2 separate regions of the Homo sapiens genome follow, and region 1 is linked to region 2. The links are contacts of gene promoters, found by promoter capture Hi-C in blood cells and fetal thymus (Javierre and others, 2016). All regions are on one chromosome and are shown on one strand. The core of a region is centred on a gene start or on the middle of the fragment in contact, and the rest is flanking DNA. Distances in the headings are between cores, read along the strand shown.

The links. The method cuts DNA at HindIII sites, captures the fragments that hold promoters and counts their contacts. A CHiCAGO score of 5 or more calls a contact.
Region 1: a fragment that was not itself captured here is called in contact with the fragment with the promoter of LRRC32-AS1 in region 2 in 1 of 17 cell types (megakaryocytes); the score reaches 7.1 in megakaryocytes.

Annotation. Positions count from the first base shown.
Region 1 is chr11:76,596,971-76,601,270 of GRCh38, reverse strand. No RefSeq gene overlaps it. Among named protein-coding and RNA genes, the nearest start is that of LINC02757, 31 kb to the left of the region's middle. RefSeq lists a silencer at 2,583-2,662 and an enhancer at 3,293-3,944. The HindIII fragment of the contact is 1,545 bases long and covers 2,058-3,602 here.
Region 2 is chr11:76,653,985-76,658,276 of GRCh38, reverse strand. It overlaps LRRC32-AS1 (LRRC32 antisense RNA 1), which reads right to left and starts at 1,281. Exons shown (of 3, transcript NR_199061.1): 1 at 1,121-1,281. It overlaps LRRC32 (leucine rich repeat containing 32), which reads left to right. Exons shown (of 3, transcript NM_001128922.2): 3 at 1-753. RefSeq lists an enhancer at 3,985-4,292. The HindIII fragment of the contact is 4,024 bases long and covers 1-3,290 here.

The DNA.
Region 1 (4,300 bases), core at 1,581-4,080, 59 kb after region 2:
AGCTACTCGGGAGGCTGAGGTGGGAGAATCACTTGAACCTGGGAAGCAGAGGTTGAAGTGAGCCAAGATCGTGCCACTGCACTCCAGCCTGGGCAACAGAGCAAAACTCCATCTCAAAAAAAAAAAAAAAAAAAAAAAAGACCTCGTCACTTCCCAGGTACCCCAGCCCTTAATTCCAACACACTGAGGATTAAGTTTCAACATATGAATTTTGGGGGTCACAAACACTCAGACCACAGCACCTTCCACGGTGGGAAGTGTGTGCACGCACCATGTTTTAATTAATATTCTTTCCCAAGCACCTTTCCATGTAGCAACAGAGTCTTCATTTTTGGCTGCAGAATATTCTGTCTTTTTGATGCACCGTAGTTTACTAAGCCAATCCCCTCTTACTGGATATTTAGGTTATTTCTAAATTTTTTATATATATATATATATATATATATATACACACACACACACACACACACACACAATAGAAATACATTAATATATAAATATAATATATTAATATTAATTTAATATAATATTTAGTGTTAATATTAATATCTTATATTTCTATATCAATATAATATAGAAATATATCATTATAATAATATATTTCTACTGTTAAATGTATTATAAACAATAGAAATTATATCAGTATTAACTGTGATGAATGTCATTGTGTTATTTGAATGCTTTTCTTCAGAGGCGGGAGTGGGGCTGAGCCAACTCTGTGGATAATCTGCCCATGCCAGCCCCGCTCCCAGCCTCAAGCGCCTGTTTCCCTTCTCTCCTCTCCGTCTGTCTACCCAAGGGCTTCTTCCAGCACCAAAGGACCTTGTTCAGCCTGTGCAGGGATGTGCCAGAGACCCAACACCCTCACGGGCAATCCTCAATCTCAGGGAATGAAAAGTGGACAAACACCCCAACGTCCAGCTCTTGAGTTTGAGATTCTGATGATGTGTGTTCTATACTCCAGCTCCTAGGGTGCCCAGCAGGATGGAGCCCAGGTGCCCACAGTGGTAACCCGCTCATCGAAGCCACCTTCCTGGGTTTTCTCCCTCCCTTTCCCACTTCTCCGTTTCTCACTGTTGCCTGGCATCACCTCCCGAATGAACTACCTGCACCCAAGCCCTTGGGTCAAGGTTGGCTTTGCAGGGATGAGATTTAGGACAGGAGTTGTGGATACTTTCTTTCAAAGGCTCAAAACCACCTGCAGGAAAGGGACTATATTAGCTCAAACTTCTTCTCAAACCATTTTGTGTTTATTTCCTCCAGAAACTCCTCTCAAACTTCACAATACAGGATGGCAGAGAGAACACAGGCCTTGGATACAGGTAGCCCCCAAATCAATCCCCAGCACTAGCCTTGGGGAAGTCGCTTCACTTTTAAGAGCCTCACTTTCCTCATCTGAAAATGGGCCAGCCGGGCTATCTGTTGGGCTACATAGAGCCTGAGGCCTGAAAGGGAGCTACCATCCCCCTGCCTCCTTCCTGCCTCACTTGCTCCCCACCCTTCCCTGGCCCACCACCTTGGCACCTGCCTCCTCTCTGTGGCTGGCCTAGTGAGCCTGAGGTCAAAGGCCACATCCCTAACTCTTTCAGGTCCTTTAACAACTGCTGTTTACTACAAACCAAGAGCTGTGCAGAGCGCCATGCCTCGATGACATCCCTACAGCTCTATGAGGTGGGCGCGGTGATTACGCCCATTTCATAAGTGAGGAAGTTGAGGTGCAGACAGGAGGGGCTTACCCCAGCCACACGGTGAGCACGAGGCAGCGCCCGGACTCACCTCCAGGTCTCTCTGACTCCTGAAGCCATGCTCCTCAGGACCACAGAGGCTGCCTCCTGCCCGCAGAACCCTCTCCAGAGGAGAGGGGATTCCTTGCGGGTGACTCAGGGCCTGGGGCAAGGAAGCCACATCCCTGGGGTCTGCTGGGAAGGAGAAAGTGACGCCAGGGTAATTCCCATACAGCTATGAGGTTCTTAGCAGCTGGGGGAGGGGGCCGCAGGCTTTGTTGGCTACCCTCATGGTGGGGGCAGCAGGGAGGGTCCCTTAGCTGAGTCTAAGCTTCCTGGGAGGCTATGGGATGTGCGGGAAAGGGTGGGGAGCGGGTGAGGCCACAGCGAGTGTGTTCTGCAGCCTGGGGCCACCAGGGGAGCAGACATTCTTCAGCAGCTGCTGGAAATCCCAGGGGCTGCTTTTCCTGGGAGCCACCAGGAAGATGCCCTGGAAGTGGCCTTTCCAAGGTTCTGGAGCAGGGCCATCCAATAAAACAGAATGTGAGACTCGGATGTAATGACATTTCTCCAGTAGCTACATTAAGAAAGTAAAAAGAAACAAGTGAACTTAATTTTAATAATATATTTAACTTAATATATCAAAATATTATCCTTTCAACATGTAATCAGTATTAAAAATTATGAATGTTGTATTTCATTTTTTTTTTTTTGTATTGTTGAAACCTGGTGTGTCTTTTCCACCCACAGCACAGCTCGTTTCAGACCAGCCACATTTCAGATGCCCAGTAGCCGCGTGCGGCTGGTGGCTACTAAGCTGGAGCGCACAGTTAGAGAGACCTCTAGGGGTGACTTGAGGATGCTGAAGGAGCCAAGGGGCAAACCTCAGTGAGTGGTGCCAGGACCCAGAGGTCACAAGAGGGTCCTGGGACCAAGTGTCATGTATCATTTAGTCTTCTCAACACCACCCAAGGCAGCATGATCACCCCTGTTAGGTAGATGAGGGAGTCAACTCAGAGGAGCCGGGTGGCTGGCACAAAGTCTCCTAGCAGGATGGGAGCTAGTCACCCCCCAGCACTGAGATGATGCTGCAGCCCACCCTACCCCAGGGGCACAGAGGAGCAAAGGAAGGCCCCCCACCCCAGGACTGCTGACCTCACACGTCTTCCCAGCCCCAGGCTTGCCCAGTGAGGGTTGGCACATTTAGGGGAGTCCCTCAGCCACCTTTCTTCATGCAGGAGTCAGGGAGGAAGTGGGCAGGCAGGCAGGTGGGTAGCAGCAGCCTCTTTCTCCTTCATCTTGCCCTGTCACAGACTGGTGTGGGTGGTGCCAGGTGAGCCCACCTAGAACGTGGCTTTTCCCCCTCCCCATTCCCATGGACACACGCATGTGCATGGGTCACAGGTGCTGCCTCTGGCTGGTCCACATTAACCCACACAGCTTCCCACCCTGGCTGCCCCTCACCCCAGCTGGTCCACGTGTCCACACCACCCAGAGCAGCACCGTTCACATCCACTGACTCAGCCAAGATTTCCTGAGGGTCAGCCTGGCAGGAATTTTGCCCATTCTACAGATGAGGACACGAAGGTCCAGAAAGGGGTGGGACTGGGTTCCCTGACTGCTGCTGGGCCTTGGTCCATGGCATCCACTGGCTCTCACTGGTCAAGGCAAGGAAGGCCCCTGGGAGGGGCACAGCATTTGGTGGGTACAGAGGAGGAGGTGGGTTTGCAGGGCTCAGGGCCTGACCATGGGCTCTGAAGGCAGAGGACAGAGTCTGTACAGGGGATTAGACATGGCCACTGGGTCCAGTTATGGAAACAGCCGTCCCCGCTCCCCTGCCACTGGGGTGCTCTGCCCGACCGGAGGGGGAACCAAGCTTGCGTCTCCCGCACTCATGAAGGGAGCACCTCTAGTTCCCAGGGCCAGATGGAGTGAGGGCAAGAGTTGGGGAGGTCTAATTTGCATCCAGGTTTCTGGTTTGAATACTAAGCAGATGGATGGTGGTGGCATTTGCTGGGATGTGTTGTGGGGAGCACATGGGGGAGGCTGAGTTGGGGTTGGGCAGTTTAAGTCCTGGGGGAGATACTGGGTAGAGAGCCTGGGCAGGGAGGGCCTGGGAGGCCTCCATGGAGTGGGCTACAGTGTGGGAAGGGGCAGTGACCAGGAGGGTGCCTTCCCAGTGAGCCTTCCCAAACCGCCCTGTTTAAAAGTCCACCATTCCACACTCCCTATCCCCCTCTGTGCCTCAGTTTCCCTGTGGAACGTATACCATGGAACATACTATTAACCTGTCACTCACCTTCCTTATTGTTTGTTCCCCACGTGGAGGAATGGTGTCTGTTGTTTGCTTGCTTGCTTGTTTGTTTGTTTGTTTGTTTCTCTGCTGGGCCCTGTGCTTGGAGCATTGCCTGCCTCAAAGGTGCATAAATGATGAATGCCTGAAGAGCTGAGGGCTCTGGATGGAGGATGGAATGGGGAGGTGGAGGTGGGGATCGGCATTTAAGAGGTGGCTGAGCAACAAGTTCCAGCCAGCGAGGCCACCGTGCTCACGGGAGTGACTTCCCAACCCTGGCTGT
Region 2 (4,292 bases), core at 32-2,531:
TATGGAATCCAACCTCCCCATTGCACAGATGGGGAAACTGAGGCTTAGGAAGAGAATGAAACTTGTGGAGAGCTTATACAGAGCCTCTGGGGGAAAAAAGAGCCCTTATTTGTGGGGTGAGATTGGGGGTTGGACCAGAGTGATGTCCTCTCTCAGCTATCACATCACAAGATAATGCTGGCTCCAAACTTCCTTTCTGTGCCTCATCATGCAAGGATCTTTTTTCCCTCTTACAAAAACAGGTAAAAAGCCTCACCCAGATGACCCCCATCCCTCATACCATGGAGTCATGAGCTGTCTGGGAAGAATGGACGTGCTGGGACCAACTCAAGACCTTGTTTTGCTGTCTTCATCATCTTACCTGTGCTTGGCCCACAGTCTGGCTCATGATGTGGGCTCAGTAATGTGCGAGAAAGTGAAAATGCCACTCTCTCCACCCCATTTTACAGAGGAGAACACCAAGGCCCAGAGGAAGTTAAGGGAGAGTCAATGGGCAGAGCCAGGGCTAGGCCCTGGTGGTGTGTGGAGCACCCAGGCAGACCCAGTCCTGGTTGGGATCACACCCACGGGTGCTACTGCACGTAACACTCCTCCTTAGGCCTGGAGGCCAAGGTGTGGGTCCCCACGCCTGATCTTTGAAAACACTACACAGGGCTGCTGTCACTTCCCAGGGCCCAGGCCTCAGCCCAGGCCTCGGGACCAACTCTTTGTATAACCTACCTGAATGTATTAAAAACTAATTTTGGAGAAGCAGTGTGGCTGCCAGCTTCCTCTTTGCAATCCGCTTCATTGCGTCCACTAGAACCCTGCCGCTCAATCCCATTACGGTCGTTCAATCATCATGGCAAATCCCTGGGGACACTGAGACTCTGGGCCAGCACCACCCTGGACCTTGAAGCCGCAGCCACTAGCATGGCCCCTGCTACACCTCTTGCCCCACACTCAACAGGCGACTGTGCTCCCCACCCCAGGGCTGAGAGGCTGAGGGCTTCCGTTTGTTTCCTTCCTGCTACAGCTACAGGCCCCCTCCCCTTCTCTGTGCTCAGCCCTCTGTGCCCTATCTCAGAGGCTGCACTGCCCCTCCTCCTTGGGGTCCCCAGCCCCGTCCTCTCTCCCTTACCCCGTCATGCTCTCTTCTGCCTCCAGCCTCTCCCTGTTTACGTCTTCCTCTCAGACTTCAGCTGGACTCAAGTCTTGTCCGTCTTAAAAATAGTGAGAAGCCCCTCAGCCACTTTCCCCTTCGTCCTCCCACTCTTCACAGGCCAGGTTCTTGGTAAAGTCACTTCCCTTCCCGCCCCTCCCGTTCTCAACCCGCCTGGAGCTGCCTTCAGCCCCTCCCAGCTCCATGCTGCCCTTGCTAACAGCGTCAAGGGTATCCTTTGCCAAACTCAGCACGCTTTTCAGACCTCCTCTCCCTAGGCCCTGTGCAGCAGGCCCCCCACCCATACCCCTGCTGGGCATGCTCTCCCCACAGCTGTGATCCCACACAGGAAGCCATCTCCTCCCTCCCAGGCCACTCCTTTTCAGGCCACTCTTTGCTCATCTTCCTTGAGCCAGCTTTAAGTGGTGATGGCCAGGGCTCCATCCTAAGCCCTTTTCCCTTGGGAACACTATGGCCTCATTGCTGTAAACACCCCATTGCTCTGATGGCCCACATCTCTGTCTCCAGCCCCACCTCTCCTGAAAGTCCAATTCTGCTACCCAGAGGCCTTCCCAGGTAGAGGGCTAAAGGTCCCCAGGGACTGGAGAATTCAGTGATCAGCCAGGCTGCAGATCAAGGTTGAACTTGGAAGAAAACCACACCTGGTTCCTGGCTTGGAGTTGGAGGGTGAGTGTCGGGTGTGGGACAGAAGCAGCCTCACCTGGGTAGGGGAGCACTGAGAGGCGTGACAGGCCAGGGCAGAGCATGCAGAGCAGGGGGTGCTTATTCCTCTGGCCCTCACACCTTCCATTTCGCCCTGTCAGCAGCCTGGCACTGCGCCTTTGCCCTTCCCTTCCCTGACTGCCTCTCCCCCAAGCTCCTGCTCAGTGATGCTTCTCCTGCCCACCCCGAGTCAGCCTGGACCCCTCCCCTTGGCCCTGCAGCCCCTGGGCCCAGCGTTGGCAGCTCTGCCTCCTGGAGATTCTTCCGTTTCTCTGGTCCGTGCCCTCTCACCTCCCCATTCCTGCTCCTGGCTCCCAGTCTGCAAAGGGAAATTCTAAACACCTATTTCATGGGGTAGGGCTGGGGGAGAAAGGAGAGAGCCCCACCCCCTGGCACACGATAGGTGCTCCGTGAAGGCCTAAGGGGAAAGCAGGAGCTTGGGCTGAGCTCGCCTAGGGTCTGCGGGCCTCTGCTCCAGCAGGGAGCCCAGCAGGCCCCTGACCCCTTTTCCTGACAAACAGGGAGTTTGCTCACCTGGCCAAGACCCCCGGTGAGGCAGAAATTCCTGTTTTCAGCCAAACGTGGACACAGCAGCCAACTAGGTCATCAGAACATCCAGCTTCCCGAGCTCTTAGCTTGCAGGGAGAGGGGAGGCCCTGCCACTCCCAGGTCACAGTCAGCCTGAGGTGCAGGGCCCAACTCCTGGGGTTCCATGCGCTGGCGTGGCACTCCACCAGGAACGGGTCCCGGGACGCGCCAGCAACTCACCCTCTCAGACCCACAGGCTGGCCACATCCTCCAGGATCTGGGACCCACCGTCTGTGTTCTGTGCCCCTGTCCTTCAGGCAGTTCACTGAGCCCATGAGGCCCATCTCTCTCCCGCCACCTCTCACAACATGCTCAGAGATGGCCATTGTTGAGCACTTCCGGGCGGGCCCATGCTGAGCACTGGATGTGGATTGTCATGTTTAATTCTGACAGCCGTTGAAGAGATTTCTACTGTTACCATCCTCATTTTAGAGAACTGAGCTCCAGCGATGAGACTTGAACCCAGGCTGTCCCACTCTGGAGCCAGCAGTCTTAACCATTAGGCAGCACTGCCTCCTGCACCTCTCCCGCCTCCTCTGCCGGAACCAGCTCACCCCCCCACCCACCTGCACAATCTCCTTCACCACCCTCGCCTGTATCACCTCCATCACCTTCTCTGGGGAGACTGTCTGGATTTCTCTCCTCCAGCTGCCCACAGGTCTGGGCTGCCCTCAGCATTGGGTGTCTGCCTGACCCACCCACCAGGCCAGGAGGTCCTGGGGGGAGGTCCTACCTGGAGTCCTATCTGTCCCCAGGGCCTGTGAGCCAACACAGACTAAAGCCAGCTCAGAAAAGGTTTTCTGAGTGAATGGCCCCTGTCTTCCAGGACTCAGAAGCTTGTGGAGTTGAGACAAGCCCTCAGAGAGTGTGGTGAGGAGGCTTTTTGAACAGACCTAGGGGACACAGAGAGGACAGGGGAATGCAGACTGTGGGCTGCCCACGGCAGCAGGGGCCAGTGGGGAGGCAAAGAATCCTCTCTGACCACCCTCCATTCCCTGCAGCTTCCTCAGGCCTCTAGGACCCCGTCTTATCTTTGTCCTCCCCCCCTCCTTTGCTCCCCCTCGTCTCCCATTCTTCTCTTCTTGGTCATCTCCCCCCACCCCCACCCCTATCGCACTGGAAACAGTTGGGCTGTGGTGGCTGAGAATGGGGAGGGCGGGGTGGGGGAGAGGGAGGCCCGAGCTGTTTATAGGAACTGGAGCAGCTCCATCCATCAGCTCTGTTTGGAACTGGAGACCAAGCATAATAAATACCTTGGCTCCTCCCCAGCTGCGCTTTCCGTGAACTTGGCCGTCCGAACTCCAGCTCTCCCTGGCCTCCTGGTTCCCAGGATCCAGTCTCACTCCACCCCACCCTACCTCACCTCCCACCAAGCTGCCCTGGAAAGAGTCTGGCCTCTGGGACCAGAAACACGGGCCTGAGTCTAGGTTCTGCTGCTTCCTCACTGTGGGACCAAGGCCAAGACCGTCACTTAGCTGCACCTCTATTTCTGCATCTGTAAAATGGGGTCATAATCATCGCCCACACCCCCAAACTCAGCACTGCTCATTCGTTCGGCCAGAGTGGCTTGGGCATCTGCTCTGTGCTGGGCCCTAGGCCCTGCGGGATACAGGGAACAGTTGGACAGAGCCTCTGTCTATGGGGTGGAGAGAGGGGCCACACCACAACCCAAGCCAGGAAGTGGTCAGCGCCTTGAGGGAGGTCCAGATTTTGTGCTCGGGAAGTTTGTTTGCAGCAGGGAGCAGCCCTTCCAGCTGGAGAAGTGAGGCAAGACTTCGAGGACATCTGGGCTGGCTCTGCAAGGAAGGGTAGGATTTCAACACGTGGAGATGGGAAGAGG